Regions from separate parts of the Homo sapiens genome. Here region 2 is linked to region 1. Evidence: promoter capture Hi-C in human tissues and cell types (Jung and others, 2019). All regions are on one chromosome and are shown on one strand. Each heading gives the region's core, a stretch centred on a gene start or on the middle of the fragment in contact. The rest is flanking DNA. Distances are from core to core; before and after follow the strand shown. Region 1 overlaps ZNF316 (zinc finger protein 316). Region 2 holds the start of ZNF853 (zinc finger protein 853).

Region 1 (2,552 bases), core at 39-2,538:
TCTGCCAGCCTCCCTATCCTGTAGGGTTGGGGTATAGGGCTGGGGTGCAGCAGCCTTCCCAGACCTGGGGAGTGTGGCTGCCAGTCGGGGAAGGGTGGCCACTGATGGGGACGGGGCTTTTCTTTGCTGCTCTGTGCACGGAGTGGCTGTGGGTGGCAGTTCGAGGTAGACTCAACTTAGTGACAAGAAACCTTTTTATTTCAAGCTTACGTTTACTATGATAGTAAACCGATAAAGTATCATGAAATGTGAAAGATGCAGTAACCCGTTTTCTGACCCTTTTCTATGATGCCTGTTTTTTCACAGTGAAGCCGGGCCTGTGTGGGTCTGTGTTTTCCTGCGGCTCTAGGTCCCCATATGGAATGTATGTGGGACGAGGCAGTGCCAAGGGCATGCAGCCTGGCAGGGGCCAGCGTGCGACATGAGGGGCTACCCGAGGCCTACTGGGACCTCCTGGGCTCCGACTTTCCCTCTAGGGCAGCACTCAGTGGTCCAGGCTTATCCAGCTAGGTGACGGCTGAAATGGGCAGGGGACCCAGGTGGGGTGAGGAGGAGATTTCCACACCAGCTGTGGGAGCTGGAACCTTCCAGATGCTGAGACTGTCGGGCAGACACCAGGAGGGTCCATGAAGGTGCCTTAGAGCATCTGGGGCTGCAGGCCAGGTGTCATCCCTGTGTCCCGTGACTTAGTGCCTGCTCCATAGACACCAGTTCCCTCCTGGGTGCGTCACGATGTCTTAGGTGTTTGAGCCATCAACAGGAGCCCCACCGAGCCAGCTCCATCTACATGTTGTTCATTGCCTGCACAGGTGCCTCGCAAGGCTGAAGGGAGAGGGCAGGGGTGCAGCTTGGTGTGAGAGGGGCAGAATGGGGGAAGCTGAGCAAAGCTTAGAGCTGACAGGCCGGGCACGGTGGCTCACCCCTGTAATCCCAGCACTTTGGGAGGCCAAGGTGGGTAGACCACCTGAGGTCAGGAGTTTGAGACTAGCCTGACCAACACTGAGAAACCCCATCTCTACTAAAATCATCATCATCATCATCATCATCTGGGCGCACGCCTGTAACTCCAGTTACTCGGGAGACTGAGGCAGGAGAATTGCTCAACCCGGGAGGTGGAGGTTGCGGTGGGCCGAGATTCGGCCATTGCACTCCAGCCTGGGCAACGAGCTCAATTCCGTCTCAAAAAACAAAACAAAATAAAAAAAGGCTGGGCGCGGTGGGTCACGCCTGTAATCCCAGCACTTTGGGAGGCCGAGGTGGGCAGATCACCTGAGGTCAGGAGTTCGAGACCAGCCTGGCCAACATGGCGAAACTCCATCTCTACTAAAAATACAAAAATTAGCCAGCTGCGGTGCTGTGCGCCTGTAATCCCAGCTACTAGGGAGTCTGAGGCAGAAGAATTGCTTGAACCTGGGAGGTGGAGGTTGCAGTGAGCTTTTAAAAAAAAAAGCCGGGCGTGGTGGCCTGAGCCCATAATCGCAGCTACTTGGGAGGCTGAGGTGGGAGAATTGCTTGAACCCACGAGGTGGAGGTTGCAGTGAGCCAAGATCGAGCCACTGCACTCCAGCCTGGGTGACAGAGTGAGACTCTTGTCTCAAAACAAAAACAAAAAGCTTAGAGCTGACAAAGGCAGGTCTTCTGTGGACAGGGCCGCCGGCTGCGCTGTCTTCCAGGAAGGCCAGGGAGGCGGAGTTCTCCAGGAGCTTTGGGGAAAACTGCCCCAGCGTCTCCACCTGGTTTTCTCAGCACAGGATCCCTGCTTGGGTTTAACCTTCGGTCGCACCCCTTCCTAGAGTTTGCCCCGTTCCTCAGCAGGTGGCAAGCCCTGGAGGGAGCCGGCGGTCTGGAAGAGATGTTGGACGGGAGCCCTGGCTTTCCTGGGAGGGACAGTTTCAGGTGCTGCGTGTCCCCAGGTTCCTAGCTGGGGGCGGCGGCTTTCCTGCCTTGCGGCTGTTCAGGACTGGCAGTGGGACATGGGCAACCGCTCACTTGGTGAAAGGAGGTGCCCCGTCCGACTGAAGGAAGGTCCTGCTGGTGGCGTCTCGGAAGCCCTGATTTCTCGGGACAGGAACCTGCCAGAGGCTCCTGTCAAGTTCACTTACCTCTCTCTTCTGGCCTGCCTTTGTCACCTTCAGGAGCCTGGTTCTGGACGGACGACATAGAGGACCACGAGGAGGAAGACGACGAGGACTTCCTGGCGGAGGTGGCCGAGGAGGAGAACGAGCCCCCAGGGCTCTGGTCGGCGGCCTACGGCGTGGGGGACGTGCCTGGGACGTGGGGGCCCGACGACTCGGATTCGGCGCAGACTCCAGAGGGGTGGGGACCCGACCCAGGCGGCCTGGGGGTCCTGGCCGACGGCTCTGAAGCGAAGCCTTTCCTGCCCGGCCGGGAGCCGGGTGCGAACCTGCTGTCGCCCTGGGCGTTCCCCGCCGCAGTGGCCCCGCCGGCCGGGAGGCCGGAGACCACGTGCGACGTGTGCGGCAAGGTCTTCCCGCACCGCTCGCGGCTGGCCAAGCACCAGCGCTACCACGCGGCCGTCAAGCCCTTCGGCT
Region 2 (2,552 bases), core at 39-2,538, 36 kb before region 1:
CAGGCTGGTCTCCAACTCCAGACCTCAGGTGATCTGCCCGCCTCGGCCTCCCAAAGTGCTGGGATTATAGGCGTGAGCCACCGCGCCCAGCATGTTTGCTTGTTTTTAGATGGAGACAGGGTCTCACTCTATCACCCAGGCTGGGGTGCAGTGGCGCGATCATAGTTCACTGCAGCCTCGACCTCCTCCCGGGCTCAAGTGGTCCACCCACCTTGGCCTCCAAAGTAGTTGGGATTACAGGCTACTTTTCAGTAGCCCAGCTAATTTTTTAAAAACCTCTTTTGTAGAGATGGGGTCTTGCTATGTTGGCTAGGCTGGTCTCAAACTACCAGCCTCAAGTGATCCTCCCGAAATGCTGGGTTTACAGGCGTGAAGTACCATGCCCTGCCCCCAGATCTTTGGTTTTTTCTAAAGAATTTGAGCATCCCAATTTGAATTTGAATTCTCCAGGTTAGAGAGGTTTGTGCACCGAGAACAGGAAAGTTAGGTGGTGCAACATTAAGACGGGGTTAGGGAAGGCCTCCCTTGGAGAAGACCCCTGACCCAGGCAGGAATCCACTTGCCAAGTAGGGAAAGAGGAGAGGAGAGGGTGAGGGAGGTGGGAGGCCTGACCACCAGCCTTGTGGTCAGCGAAAGGCCGCAGGGGCGCTGGGCGGGAGGATTCCAGCTCTGCCAGTTCTCCACGGTGGCCTCATTTGATCTATGCAGGTCACAGTCCCTGATCGGGGGAGGGAGGCACACACTCCCTACTGGCCTGCCCTCCCCAGCCCCGGGGTCTAGGAGGAGGGCTCCACGGTGCGGACCGGGGTGGCCTCTCCAGGGCCCGCTCGGGCCGGGCCCGGATGGCGCCTACTCCCTCTCCGAGTGCCATCGAATTGTGTGCTAATTAGCCACAATTTGCACCGCGGCAGGGGCGCCCCGAGGCCACGCCTGCCCTCTAGGGGGTGGCAGGGATCGGGTTGGGTACCCCCCACCCAGACACCCAGGCAGTGACAGTCGCCAACCCCGTGGCGCGAGGACACGCGCAGCAGGGATGCGGCACAGCGCGCGCTGCGCTCGGCACCGGCCAGCCCGGGACGCCCCAGGGGCCGCCGCATCGTGTCCCCCGGGCCGGGTGAGTGGCCGGGCCGGGAATGGTTAAGCCCACCGAGCTGCGGCTGCCTAGAGCGGCGGCGGCGACGGCGGCGGCGGCGGCGGGGGCCGGGGCGCGGGGGCGCGGCGGGCGGGCAGGGGCGGGGGACAGGATGCGGATGCCGGGGGGACTTCCTGTGCCGGCCCCCGCGCCCCCGCCCCCGGCCCGGCCAGCGGCCCGCACGGACGCACTCCCGGGCGGGCGGGCGAGCCCAGGGGGACCCGGCCTTGCCGCGGCGCCCGCCCCGCCCCCGCCCCGGCCCCCGCGCGGCCCGGCCCAGGCCGCCCGCAGGCTCCGGGCACCTGTAGCCCCCGAGGACCCGCGTCGCCTGGCCGCCGCCGACCCCAGGCGGGGCCACCCCGTGGTGCCGACCCCGGGCGCCGGCCTGGATCCCGCTGCCCGCGATGGTCCCGGGGGGCCGGCCCTGAGCCCCGCGCGGGATTCGGGGCCCTGCCTCCCGCCCCAGCCCCCGCCGGAGAGTCTCCACCAACTTCTGCTCGGCCGCTCCTCTCAGCCCCTTCCCTTGGCCCAGGGCGACCTCGGCAGCCCAGAGGGCGTGGACCCTCCGGAGTGCCCAGAAAGCCCCCGGGGTGGCCCTGCGCCTCCTGGCTCTTTCTGGATGGAGGCGCCTCCGGAAGGAGCCGGCTGCACGCCGTGGCCTTCACCTCGCAGCCTCTGCTGACCACACCTCCCTAGCGCAGAGGCTGCCCGGGAGCAGGAAATGCTCCACCAGGTGAGGCCCAGGGGGTCGTTGGCGCTGGGCAACCGGGGACGCGTCCCTTGAGAGAGTTTGGACTGGATGGCACGAGTCGGCCTGTTTAGGGGAGAGGGGCCAGCTCTGCACGGGCCAGGGTGGACTCTCAGGAGCGCCTGGGCACAGGGCCAGGCCGTGGGTGACAGTGCTCTGGACACCTGCCTTGCCCGGGAGCTGGGGTGGCAGCTGACACACGTGGCCTGCTGGCGGCCTTCTCAGAGCAGGCCAGGAAGGCAATAGAATGGAAGGGCGCCAGGCGCAGTGGCTCACTCCTATAATCCCAACACTTTAGGAGGCCGAGGCAGGAGGATCGCCTGAGGCCAGGAGTTCGAGACCAGCCTTGGGCAACATCATCTACAATATAAAAAAACATAAAAATTAGCTGGGGGTGATGGCACGCACCTGTAGCCCCAGCTACTCAGGAGGCGGAGGCAGGAGAATCGCTTGAACTGGGGAGACGGAGGTTGCAGTGAGTCCAGATCGCACCACTGCACTCCAGCCTGGGTGACAGAGTGAGAATCCGTATCAAGAAAAAAAAAAAAAAGTATTTAATAAAAAAAGAATTGAAGGAGGCAGGGAGGATGTTGATGGACAGTCTCTCTTTGGCCCCAGAGCTCCCCGCCCTGAATGTCCCTTTGGTGACTCTAGCTTTCCTCCCTTGTGAAG

Evidence for each region. The method cuts DNA at HindIII sites, captures the fragments that hold promoters and counts their contacts. A contact is called where the count stands out against the background at its distance.
Region 2: a contact is called between the fragment with the promoter of ZNF853 here and a fragment that was not itself captured in region 1, in 2 of the 25 tissues and cell types used here (adrenal gland and spleen).

What each region holds. Positions count from the first base shown.
Region 1 is chr7:6,650,168-6,652,719 of GRCh38, forward strand. ZNF316 (zinc finger protein 316) reads left to right here. Exons shown (of 9, transcript NM_001278559.2): 9 at 2,136-2,552. Among named protein-coding and RNA genes, the nearest start is that of ZNF316, 14 kb to the left of the region's middle. The HindIII fragment of the contact is 3,413 bases long and covers 1-2,552 here.
Region 2 is chr7:6,614,322-6,616,873 of GRCh38, forward strand. It overlaps ZNF853 (zinc finger protein 853), which reads left to right and starts at 1,289. Exons shown (of 3, transcript NM_017560.3): 1 at 1,289-1,865. The coding sequence starts at 1,854. RefSeq lists enhancers at 1-172, 173-926. The HindIII fragment of the contact is 23,550 bases long and covers 1-2,552 here.